2 separate regions of the Homo sapiens genome follow, and region 1 is linked to region 2. Evidence: promoter capture Hi-C in human tissues and cell types (Jung and others, 2019). All regions are on one chromosome and are shown on one strand. The core of a region is centred on a gene start or on the middle of the fragment in contact, and the rest is flanking DNA. Distances in the headings are between cores, read along the strand shown. Region 1 overlaps MED13L (mediator complex subunit 13L). Region 2 holds the start of TESC (tescalcin).

Evidence for each region. The method cuts DNA at HindIII sites, captures the fragments that hold promoters and counts their contacts. A contact is called where the count stands out against the background at its distance.
Region 1: a fragment that was not itself captured here is called in contact with the fragment with the promoter of TESC in region 2 in 1 of the 25 tissues and cell types used here (spleen).

Annotation. Positions count from the first base shown.
Region 1 is chr12:115,964,532-115,970,571 of GRCh38, reverse strand. MED13L (mediator complex subunit 13L) reads left to right here. Exons shown (of 31, transcript NM_015335.5): 28 at 1,475-1,632; 29 at 4,329-4,490. Among named protein-coding and RNA genes, the nearest start is that of LINC02463, 81 kb to the right of the region's middle. The HindIII fragment of the contact is 6,936 bases long and covers 1-4,970 here.
Region 2 is chr12:117,094,463-117,100,665 of GRCh38, reverse strand. TESC (tescalcin) reads left to right here and starts at 1,250. Exons shown (of 8, transcript NM_017899.4): 1 at 1,250-1,441. The coding sequence starts at 1,384. It overlaps TESC-AS1 (TESC antisense RNA 1), which reads right to left and starts at 1,199. Exons shown (of 3, transcript NR_120464.1): 1 at 1,022-1,199; 2 at 26-213. RefSeq lists silencers at 34-251, 1,118-1,256, 995-1,514, 1,575-1,684, 1,755-1,854. The HindIII fragment of the contact is 11,228 bases long and covers 1-6,203 here.

The DNA.
Region 1 (6,040 bases), core at 253-2,752, 1.1 Mb after region 2:
TAGTGCTCACCTTCATGCAGGGCAGAGCCGGAGTATGGAATCACTGGGCTGCCGCATGGCTTTTCTGTGTTGTAATAAACAACCCAGGAACTATAAAGAGGGGATAGAAGGTTTGAGAATCTATTTGGTCTTAAAGCTTTGATTTATCTGCACAATTAACAAGACCAAATAAATATTTTCCTTGTTTGGGCAATTAACTTTCTTCCATTTTTCATTAAAGGCAAAAAATAATACCTGCGTGGCACTGTTCTGTACTTAGGTGCCACTCTTTCAATAAATATTTGCTGATGTGATTTGAAATGTGTGAAGTACTAAGCAATATGAAGAGAGCACCTTCCTTTAGCTAGTCTATGGCAATCTAATTTGCTATAGAGAAACCCTTATTTGATTATTCTTAATGGAAATTTTTGAATAGCTGTTAAGGTATTTGTTTAAAAAAATGATTATTTATAAACTATAAAACACTCAACACAGCATCCATTTGCATTGTTTTTGAAGAAATTATAACACCTACCAGTGTTTATTTATGGTAAATGGGATGAGGAAAAGGATACCAAATTTTATATCTGGTATGATTACAATAGAATAACAAATATATGAGAAAATAAAAGAATCATAGAAAAAAATGATCATGGTGATTGGGTTCTAGGTGATGGTTTTCACTTTTTATACTTTTCTTTACAAATTTTCTGCTGTGAGTGTACCTTACTTTTATAATGTTGGGGAGGATTTCTTAATGAAAATGCTGGGCCAGGCACGGTGGCTTATGCCTGTAATCCTAGCACTTTGGGAGGCTGAGGCAGGCGGATCCCTTGAGGTCAGGAATTTGAGACTAGCCTGGCCAACGTGGTGAAACCCCATCTCTATGAAAAATACAAAAATTAGCCAGAAATCACTTGAACCCAGGAGGCAGAGGTTGCAGTGAGCCGAGATCGTGCCACTGCACTCCAGCCTGGGCAACAGAGGGAGACTCCATCTCAAAAAAAAAAAAAGAGAGAAAACATTGTGCTTTGATTTGCTTTTGGAATAGGTCTCCATTTTCAGGGCAAGTTCACACTCATTAACATGCATTCATTCAGCCTCTGGTGTTTTAGATGCTAAGTGGATACATAGATGGAGTCTACTGTGTTTTTGAATGGTGTCAATTTTAATGATTAAATTGTTGCTTTAGCTCTTTTACCATACTTTTATGTGTCTTTGGAGGCTATGCAGAGTGTAGGTTTTTATGTTATATTCTTTATTGCATTCTGTTAATACTGTACATAAGGAGATCATTGGAGAGAGTACAAAATGAAAGAATAATTTGTAATAGCTTGCACTCAGTAGGTCCTAACTGAATCTAAGTTATTAACAGTGTGTGTCCATAATAGCCATATGCCAACAAAACATGACATAGGTTAGGTTGGATTATTATGATATTGATATGTGGACTATCTTTTTAATTTTTGTGCTTTTTTTCCCCCCTTCCCTCTAGATGATATGTTTGTTGACCTTCCATTCCCAGATGATATGGACAATGATATTGGCATATTAATGACTGGGAACCTCCATTCCTCTCCCAACTCTTCCCCAGTACCCTCCCCAGGCTCTCCTTCTGGAATTGGTGTGGGCTCTCACTTCCAGCATAGTCGGGTAAGGATGATTTGGAGTACGTTGTTTAAGACAACCATAGCCTTTAGGAAGATAATCCACTGGACATCTGATCATCTTGTTCCTACTTGCACAGTTCTTGATGGTCTGGGTCCTTGGTACAAGAGAAATAAGTGTGGGAAACTGACTATGGTTCCATTTTGAATAGAAGGCAGGAATTTGAAATAAATATGTTATTATTTCTGATGAATAAGTTTTATCAGAAGAATAGTCCTATTACAGATGCAAGGGTTTTTAATGCATTGTTTTCTTAGCAAAAATTAGTTCTAGTTGCTTGCTGCTTCCCAGTTTTTTAATGGTTTTATTTTTTGCCAAAATAGTGGCTTTTAAGAGATTAGTACAACAACCGTACTTACTCAACATGCAGAGTAATTGTGCTGATTGAAGAACACGTTGGTGATGGCTTGTTCTGAAAGGAGCCTGCCGTGCTCTTTGCGTGTCCTGGCTTAGTCATTTTGCAGCCTTCTTCTTTCTAGCCGACCTGCAGGAATGGCAAGAGCCGCCAGGAGATTGATTTTACAGATGTGTCCAGGTTAACGCCAGAGTATTAAGGAAAAAACCAGAGCTTACAACTGGTTTCATCTTTAAATATCTCAGGGATATTGGAGGTGGATGAACAACAGAAGATTTAAGAGTTAGAGGGTTCTGCCACAGCTTGTGGTAACTTTGCTTCAGTTAGATGATTCCTGCTGCATCACTGTATTGTACTGTTTATTTAAAATGTTATGAGACTGGGGAGTTAAGACTTTGAAAAATAGCTATGTCTGGTATCTTAGACTGAACAAGCATAAGCAGCCTGCTCACACTCATTTATTTAGACACAAAGATGGACATAAAGGACTTCAGTTTTCATCGGGGGGGGGGGGGGACTTTTATTCCCAGCACTGAATTTATTAGACGCTGGAGAGAAAAAAGGTTTATAGCTTAGATTAGTCACAGAGCAGGTAAGACCAGAGGAGGGCATCTCAGACTGTTCCCATGTTATACCTGCCCCTATTACCCTCTTCTGGAAGGAAGGGGTTTTAAGGGTCTTTGTTTCCTTTGCAGTACTTACCAGTTAATGATAATTTGTTCATGGGAAACGGTTGTGATAGGAACGAAAAACACAAATGTTACATTGTCTATTTTTTTAAAGTTGGGTTTAATTTGAATTCTGGAGGCAAGTAGCATAGCAGCTAAGAATGCATGCCCCACAGTCTGTTAAAGACAACTTTGAATTGCAGCTCTGGGCCTACGGGCTTTGTGACCTTGGACAAGCTAACTTCACCTCTCTTAGCCTGAGTTACCTTATCTGTGAAATGGAATAATAGCAACTACCTCCCAGTACCTGTTTTTGTAATTCAGTTTATGCATTAACAAAGAATTGGTTATTGAAGTTGTAATGTTAGTTGTGTAAGAAACAGAGGTATGCTGTATTTCTCCCTTTTTTTGGAGCCTTAAGCACTAAAGTCTTTAATTCAATGCCATGATTTAGACAGTGCTGTTCTGAAGCTAGCCAGGTGGCCTTTTTCAATCCTGAGCACCTGCAGCCAGGTGACCTCCAAGAGGCTTTCAGCATTTCCTTTTTCTGAACCATTAAACATTCTTTGATATCCAGTTAAGACATTACAGCAGGGAAGAGAATGCGTTCAAAGTGGCAGTAAATTTTTTATTTTTTTAACCAACTCAGAATTGATACAGTTTGATGTAGTAGCTGCAGATTATTTTTTCCTTCCAAACAGAAGGTTTTTTTTTTTTTTTTTTTTTTTTTTGAGACAGAGTCTCACTCTGTTGCTCAAGCTAGAGTGCAGTGGCATGATCTTGGCTCACTGCAACCTTTGCCTCCTGGGTTCAAGGGATTCTCCTGCCTCAGCCTCCTGAGTAGCTGGGATTACAGGCGTGCACTACTGTGCCTGGCTAATTTTTGTATTTTTAGTAGAGTGGGGTTTCACCATGTTCGCCAGGCAGGTCTCGAAATTCTGACCTCAAGTGATCTGTCCGCCTCAGCCTCACAAAGTGCTGGGATTACAGGTGTGAGCCACCGCACCCAGCATAAACAGAGACTTTTAAAAACAAATGCATTACTTATTGCTTGCATGAAAGGTACATTTTCAATTGATGAAGCTAGCTAAAAGAATTAAAAGATAAGAAAAGTGTCAGTTGCAGCAAAACATAGCCTCTTCCAGGAGTCTCTTATTAAGGGGAATGCTGCAAATGAAAACATGGCTTCTCTGTGAGCAGATCTTGCACTACTGGCAGCTCAGGAACTTTTGTGCTGTGCACATACTGGTGTCACATTGTCCTGGTCAGGCTGGTGCGCTTGTGTGTCTTTGGCTGGTTGCTGGTGAAAGAGCACCTGCGTGTGGTAGAGCCTTCTGCTGTCAGAGATTGTAATCTTTCCATTTTAGTTTGTTACATCATAATGCCATGAAATAGATCTTACATCCCTTAGAAAAGAAACCCAAGCAAATAAATCTGTACTTACTTGACTGAGGCTGTCAGTTTTGCTGGTATCTTCTCTATGTGTGCAGCAAAGACGATGCTGGCCCCGCTTACCTTTCTCAGTCACCTGTTGTTTTCTGTGAGATGCTGCCACAAAGGGGATCACTCACTGCAGTGTGCAGAGTGAACTGATGAAAGTTCATTTTTCAAGCTTTAAGATAAATGCTGATCATGTTTTTGGGATTTTTGTTTTTCAGAGCCAGGGTGAGCGTCTTCTTTCTAGAGAAGCACCAGAGGAGCTAAAGCAGCAGCCCCTGGCCCTTGGGTATTTTGTATCAACTGCCAAAGCTGAGAATCTTCCCCAGTGGTTTTGGTCATCGTGTCCCCAGGCTCAAAACCAGTGCCCTCTCTTCTTAAAGGTTGGTTTGGTGTCATATTAGAAGTTTGCAAGGAATGAGTGATTTACGCTTAAATTTAATTTTGGTTAGAAATTTCAGTTTTAGTCACCATAATCTTATTCTGTTCCTTTTTTCTCTTGTATCTACTTATACTCTGAGGAAATTTTAATTACAGTTGTAGGTGGAGAGTAGAATTTAGGAGGACCCAAAACCATGTCACAAAGAAATGAATCACTGTAGCCCAAGGAGGAAACAGTGGGGCCCAGAGGGTAAATCTAGGATGGATGCATGGGGTTCAATGTGATGGTCTTTCTCCAAGTCTATATTGCATCACTATCAGTAAAGTTAAGCCTGTGTCGAAGGTATAATAACCAGCCATCCTCTTCTTCCCCTGCCAGGGACTCTTCACATTCTTCATTAGAGAAGAGTAAGAGTCAGCTAAAAACATCGCACATTTACACTTGCTCCTTCCTTTATATTTCTTGGAACCTTTTAATCCCAATTTTAAGGGTTCAAAACAAAAGATCCCCTACTTGCAGTTTATGTTAAAAACAGCAATACCTAGAATGAAATCCATCTCTTGCCCACAGATTGGCAAAAATACAAAGATTTGGCAGCATACTGTGTTGGCCAGATGTGGGGAGCAGGCCCTGGTGTTGGTGGGATTGCTGAATGATATAGCCCTACACACTTCCCTTTCAGGGCAGCAATCCCACCTCTAAGGAATAGCCCAAAGGTTCTTTGCCAAAACAGAAAATGACATATGTCCAAGACTAGAAAGAACCTAAGTGTCATCAGTGAGGGACTGATTGAATCAACTGTGGTGCATCCAGACAGTGAAATATTAATCATCTACAACAAAATGGAGACCATTTCTATGTAATCATTCTGTGGAGTAGAGATTACCATGGAGTAATCTATAAGATATGCACATTCACACACATATACACGTACACACATAGCTGTGTATATTTTCAGAAAGAAACGATGGAAATTAAACCAAAAACTTATTAGACAGTGAAGCAATGTTCTTTTCCTAATGACTTTAACATACTATTATAAAATCAAAGAAGGTTTATAAAAATGCATGTGTTCTTTATTTTGAATTAGAATTATCAATATGAGCATAGATTTATTTTTCCTCTCTAAAAAAGTATACACATTTTTTTAGCTCTGTCTGCTGAAAAAGCTTAGCAGCAATAAACACCTCTGTTGCCACGAATGTGGTTCCTGCACACCGTTGTCATTTAAAGGAACTGTGGTTCTTTGAAGAGATGACTGATTCCAGATATGCAGCAGGAAATATTCACAATGAACCTGAGGCATCTTGTCACACCTAAAAGGAAGAAAGTTACCAAAGATTATTATGGTCCAGCAGGGCCTCAGGAGCCATCTTAGGGGGCAGCTCTGTTGTCCAGGGATAGGATGGGACAGTGTGATCATTAAAAAAAATGATGACAGTGATAGAATGAAACAAATCCTTGGTTCATAATTGTGTTGGAAAACAAACAAAAAATCAGTCATCATTTGTTGCTAGAGCATCAACTCAGTCTGAAAAATAAAAAAATAAA
Region 2 (6,203 bases), core at 1-2,500:
ATCGAGACTAACGTTCAGAACAGACCTGATACCTGACGGTCATTGATGGTGGTGTCACTAAGCACTGCAGAGCCTTCAGGAGAGCCTTGACCTTGATGTTCTGCCCTGGCTGTGTGCCTCTCCAGGGGACAAGATTCCATAGCGCCCACCAGCCTCTGTGGCCATGTGCTGTGTCCACGCCAGGCCCTCTGGTGGACATCTCATTAACTTATCCTTATTTTAAGGAGGAGGAATCACATTACACAGGCAACAGCATCGGCCCCAGTCACCCCAACTGGATGGAGAGCCAACCCCTCAAGCCATCTTAACCCAGAACTTCCCTAATGGGCATGGGGACCACCGGCATTGCCTTCTCTCCAGCAGTTTGTCCCAAATGCAGCCTCCTGGGCCCACTTCTGCAGTTGTTTTTTTGTTTGTTTGTTTTTTGAGACAGAGTCTTGCTCTGTCGCCCAGGCTGGAGTGCAGTGGCAAGATCTCAGCTCACTGCAACCTCTGCCTCCCAGGTGCAAGTGATTCTCCTGCCTCAGCCTCCGGAGTAGCTGGGATTACAGGCATGTGCCACCGCGCCTGGCTAATTTTTGTGTTTTTAGTAGAGACGGGGTTTCACCATGTTGGCCAGGCTGGTCTCGAACTCATGAGCTCAAGTGATCCGCCCGCCTTGGCCTCCCAAAGTGCTGGGATTACAGGCGTGAGCCATGCGCCCAGCCCGCTCCTGCAGTTTGAGGTGCCTCTCAGCCACCGGGCTGTGCAGGGCCCACACGGGCCGCCACGTGGGTGTGTTCACCTCAGAAGGTGCTGGGGCTTTCCTGGAAAAAACCAAAGCGCATGGTGCATTTTCAAATAGGATTATTATTACTGTTGTTCTCCATAGAGCTATTTCATGCTCGCTGACTTCCTTGACTATCTCAGTGGAGTTTCCCTCCTAAGATCTGGAGGATGTAAGGTGGGATGGGTTGGGAGTGGGCATAGCACCTCCCAGGGGTCCCACCCCTCCTACCCACGCCCCCAAATTTGCTCACACCTGCTTCCTTCCAGATCCAGCAGGTGTGCGGAAGGGACGAGGTACGTGAGCACTGCTGCACGAACGGGGACTCCAGAGCGGTGGGCTCCGGGGTCCCCTTCCCGGCGGTTTCCGGGCCGGGGCGGGGCGGGGCGCTCCCCTAGCCGCGCAGTGCGCGAAACCGGCGTGCGCTAGGACCGCGGCGCGCCGCCCTCCGCCGTTATATGAGGCCCCGCTCCGGCCCCACGCGGAACCCGCGGCTCCGAGCCTTCGCCGGCGTCCCGACCCGAGGCCGGACCCGAGGCCAGTCCCGCCGCTGCGCAGCCGAAGCCAGTGCGGGGCCTGAGAGGGACGCGCGCCCCGGGGCCCCCGCCGCGGGCACCATGGGCGCTGCCCACTCCGCGTCTGAGGAGGTGCGGGAGCTCGAGGGCAAGACCGGCTGTGAGTACCCGCGGGGGGCGGCGCGGGGACCGGGGCGGGACCTCCGAACGGCCACTGTTGGGGACCCCGGCCCGCCGCCGCGCTGTGTGACCTTGGGCCAGTGGCGGGCCCTCTCTGCGCCTCAGTCTCCTCCTCTTTCAAATGGGTCCCCGCTGGCCACCTCGCGGGCTGCGGCGAGGAGCTCCGCGGCGATGCTCAGTGCCGCAGCCGCTCAGCTTCGGACTGGCCCGGGAACTCCCTGGCCGGGGGACTGCGGACCGGGGAGGGAGCGGGGCCCAGGCTTCCCAAGCGCAGGGCAGGTGCCTCAGGCCGGGCGGGCAAGTCCCTCAGGCACCCCCGCTGGCGCGCGCGCCCCACACCTGAGAGTCGTTTGCATTCGTGAGCGCGAGAGCGGAAAGTTTTGAAGTCGGCGGACCTGGGTGGGAACAGGTCTCCGACGCTCCCCGGCCGGGTGACCTTAGTCGGGAGAGCCGGCGCCCGGCGCCTGCTTTCGTCCTCGCATCTGTAAAATGGGTTCAGGCAGCCTCATCCCCGCGGGTGGCTGGGAGACTTAGCGAGGCAGCGGCCGCAGAGCACTTTGCCCGGAGCCCAGCGTCCTCCCCTGAGTTCGCTGAGTCTCCCGGGACCAGCAAAGGCTGCGCGCCCCGCATCGGCCCGGAGGCGGGGAGCCCTGGGAGGCCTGGCCGAGCTGCCCGCAGGGAAATGGCGGAGAAAGCGCTTCTCTGCCCGAGTTCAGCCGGGCTGGGGACTTGGCCCTGGGTCCTGAACTCGGCATGGCCAGTTCTGCCTCTGGCTGTGGACCAGGGTGTGGACTGGAGACCGCGGGGGCCAGGTGTGTGGGCAAACCGGCTTTGGCGAGCGACAGACCGGCTGTGAACCCTGCCAGCTGCACTTCCTGGCTGTGTGACCTTGGGCTAGTCACTTTACCTCTCTGATTCTCAGCTTTCCTTCTCTGTTGTAAGAGTTCTCCTAGTACCTGGTAGACGCTCAGGAAATGGGAGCTGCAGATATTTTGGGAAAGAGCTAGCTCCTGGCACCTGCTTCAAGTGCAGAGAACCAGCGTCCAGTATTGATCACCAAGAGAGGGTGGCCCAGCTGTTTGTGTGTCAGCTGAAAAGCAACCCCTCTTGACCCCCAATCTAAATACCCCTTTCCAGGAGAACTGGATGAAAATTGCAGAAAACCATTAATAACTGGTGTGTGTATGCACGCACTTATACGTCTATATCTGTATCTCTGTGTGTGTAGAGATATAGAAATATCCAACTAAAGAAGTAAAAGGTGTGGCTCAGCATATATAATATGGTACCCTTTTTTCTGTTTTTTAAAAAAGGATCCTTTGAGCTGGAGCCGCAAAGTAAAAAGAAATAGAAAATGTAAAAAGAGGGGAAAATAAGAGTATACATTTGTAATTGCTATATTTGCAGACTGGAAGAATCCACCAGAAAGTACGAATGGATGCTTGGTGGGGGTTGCGGGGGGAGTGGAAGGGATGAAGGGAGAGTGAGCTTTTTCTCCGTAAACGTTTTTATATGTTCATTTTGAACTATGTTGGATATTTTACTTACTCAAAAAGTTTTATGCACTTCAATCCGAAGACTAATATGAGAGAGAAAGGAGGGATTCCTCTAGCTCTTACTTGCTTGGGTCTCCTCTGCTTTTATTATTTCTCATGTGCCCTCTCCTCGCCTCCCACTGCTTTGAATCTGGATGGGTGTCGATGGGCATTCTCTGTGGCTGGGATCCCCGTTGGAAGGGTGGGCTCTCCGGCAGCCCACGGGGCACTCGGGAATTCCACCTGGTTGTGGGTTTGACAGGGAGGAGGGGCTGCAGAGCATGCTGGGAGTCTTGTCAGTTTCCTGGGTCCAGCCTCCCACTGGGATGACAGATGCTGTGTTCCTGCTCTGTAACCTTCCTAGATGTAGCTGCAGCGGCTTCCCTTCTTGCTGCCCAGAGCTCAGACTTCATAACCCAAGGGAGATGGAGAGGGTCGGAGAGGAGGTTCTGAGGTTAGACTAGAGTAGGCAGGTGGAACTTTAGGTAGGTGGAAAGTTGCCCCCAGTCCTCCGAAAGGGACTGCGTAATTCGGTCACTTTTGCCCACTTAGCAAATATTTATAGACCAGGGGCTGGGGATTTAGAGATGACTCGGAGAGGCTGCTGTTCCTGGAGGGGGACACACAGTAAACAAAACGCCCGACAGGTGTTAAACTGTGAACGAGGCATAGCAGGGTGGCATGAGAATGGAGCTTTAGGGTGGATCCGGAGGTCCTCCCTGAGGAGGTGATAATGGAACAGAAATCCAAGTAAGAATGAGCCAGGGGTGTGCAAATCAGTGGAAAGGGCATCTCGGGCCGAGGGGACGTCGAATGCAGAGGCCCTGTGGCAGGGACAAGCCAGCAACAGTAAATAAGAATGCATGAGATGAGGACACAGCTGTCGTCAGGGCTCAGGCTGTGGCAGGAGCCTGGCTTCAGGGGCCTTGCCAGGTACCTTGGGCAAGTCACTTATGCTCTCTGAGCCTCAGTTTTATCTACTATAAAATGGGCATAGTCATAGTACCTCCCTTGAAGTTGTTGGGAAGGATTGAGTTAATATACATGAAGTAGTTAGACCAAACACATGTACATGGTTTGTTATTGACCATGCTTTAAACACTCTTGTATGTCCTGGTCGCTCCGAGCCATAGCTGAGAGTTGAGTCTTGGTCCCACCTCTCTGAGCTACATGACCTTGGGCAAGTCATCTTACTTCTCTGAGCCTCAGTACCCCCACCTGGATCCTGAAGTCATTGTGTGGATTTGATAAGGTTACGTGCGAGACGATCGGCTTGGCATGGGAACGTCAGCTCCCAGAGACCCAGTGGGTCAGGCAGGGCCCTTCCTCCAAGGCCATTCCCTTGGGAATCTTCCCTGAGAAAAAGGGAGAAAAGCCTCAGGGTAAGGTGGCCAGAGGACAGACTGAGCCCACAGGGCTGCTGACTCCCCCGCCTCCCTGAGGACCAAGATGACCCCTGACTTTCTGGGGAGGAATCAGCTTGGTCCCTTTCTGAGAACACCATCCAGAAAGGACCAGAAGGTCAGGCTGAGGCTGGTGATAATGAACATAATTCCCCAAGCACCTGCTGAGCATCAGGCTCCACGCTGGTGCTCTCTGCATAACACTCTTTATAGTAATGATCCCCCAGGAAGGCAGTGTTAGGGCCATTTTACAGGTGAGGAAACTGAGGCTTAGAGAGGTAAACCAGCTTGCCTGCAGTCCCACAGCTGCTAAGTGGAGGAGTTGGAGATCATGGGATCCCCAAGCCTACTTTCTTTTTTTACAGTTTTTTTTAATTTTTAGTTTTTGAGGCAGGGTCTTGCTCTCTCACCCAGGCTGGAGTGCAAGGGGCATGATCAAGCTCACTGCAACCTCGAACTCCTGGGCTCCAGCGATCCTCCCACCTCAGCCTTCCCAGTAGCTATGACTGCAGGTGTGCGCCACCACACCAGCTAATTTTAAATTTTTCTGTAGAGACAGGGGTCTTGCCATGTTGATCAGACTAGTCTCAAATTCCTGGCCTCAAAGTGATCCTCCCACTTCAGCCTCTTGAAAGCGCTGGAGTTACAGGCATGAGCCACCATGCCTGGCCCCAAGACTGCTTTCTTACTGCCAGCATGCTTTCACTGTGTGTAGCTGCCACTTGAATTTCTAGGAACCAAGAAGGGATAGGAAAAGACTCCCGTATTTTTTCTCACCTTCAGGCCTTTGCACAAAAGCTGTTCCTCTGCCTGGAGCACTGTTTTCATTTGATGTGTACAATCAGGTGTTTACGTACGGGAGCCTTTCTCTGTCTCCACCCAGGGTAAGGTCTAGGCCGGGCGTGGTGGCTCACGCCTATAATCCCAGCACTTTGGGAGGCCAAGGCAGGTAGATCATGAGGTCAGGAGTTCAAGACCAGCCTGGCCAAGATAGTGAAACCCTGTCTCTACTAAAACTACAAAAATTAGCTGTGCGCGGTGGCAGACGCCTGTAATCCCAGCTACTCGGGAGGCTGAGGTCGGAGAATCGCTTGAACCTGGGTGGCGGAGGTTGCGGTGAGCTGAGAGCATGCCACTGTACTCCAGCCTGGGCGACAGAGTGAACTCCATCTCACAAAAAACAAAAACAAGAAAAAACAAACTCAAACCTTTCCTCTTAACCTTGTCTCTCTCTCTTTTTTTTTTTTTTTGAGATGAATTTTCACTCTTGTTGCCCAAGCTGGAGTGCAGTGGCGCGATCTCAGCTCACTGAAACCTCTGCCTCCTGGGTTCAAGCAATTCTCCTGCCTCAGCCTCGTGAGTAGCTGGGATTACAGGTGCCCGCCACCATGCTCGGCTAATTTTTGTATTTTTAGTAGAGACAGGGTTTCACCATGTCGGCCAGGCTGGTCTGAAACTCCTGACCTTAAGTGATCCGCCTGCCTCTGCCTCCCAAAGTGCTGGGATTACAGGTGTGAGCCACCGCGCACAGCGTTAACCCTGTCTCTTTATGAAACGAATGCTCATTATTGTTCAGGGGTTGGCTTACCTGCTGCTCCCATCCAGAAAGCCATCTCTCCATCCGACCTTTAAGGGTTAAACACCCATCCTCAGCGCTCCTGGAGCCCGCAATAGCAGGCATCACACCATGTTATACTTGTCAACTCTGTCACCTGCCACCCCTTCGAAACTTGGAGCTCCCTAGAGCAGAAAGAACGTGTCTTGTTCACCTTTGTATGCACTTGGTGGTTCAGTGAGAGCATAA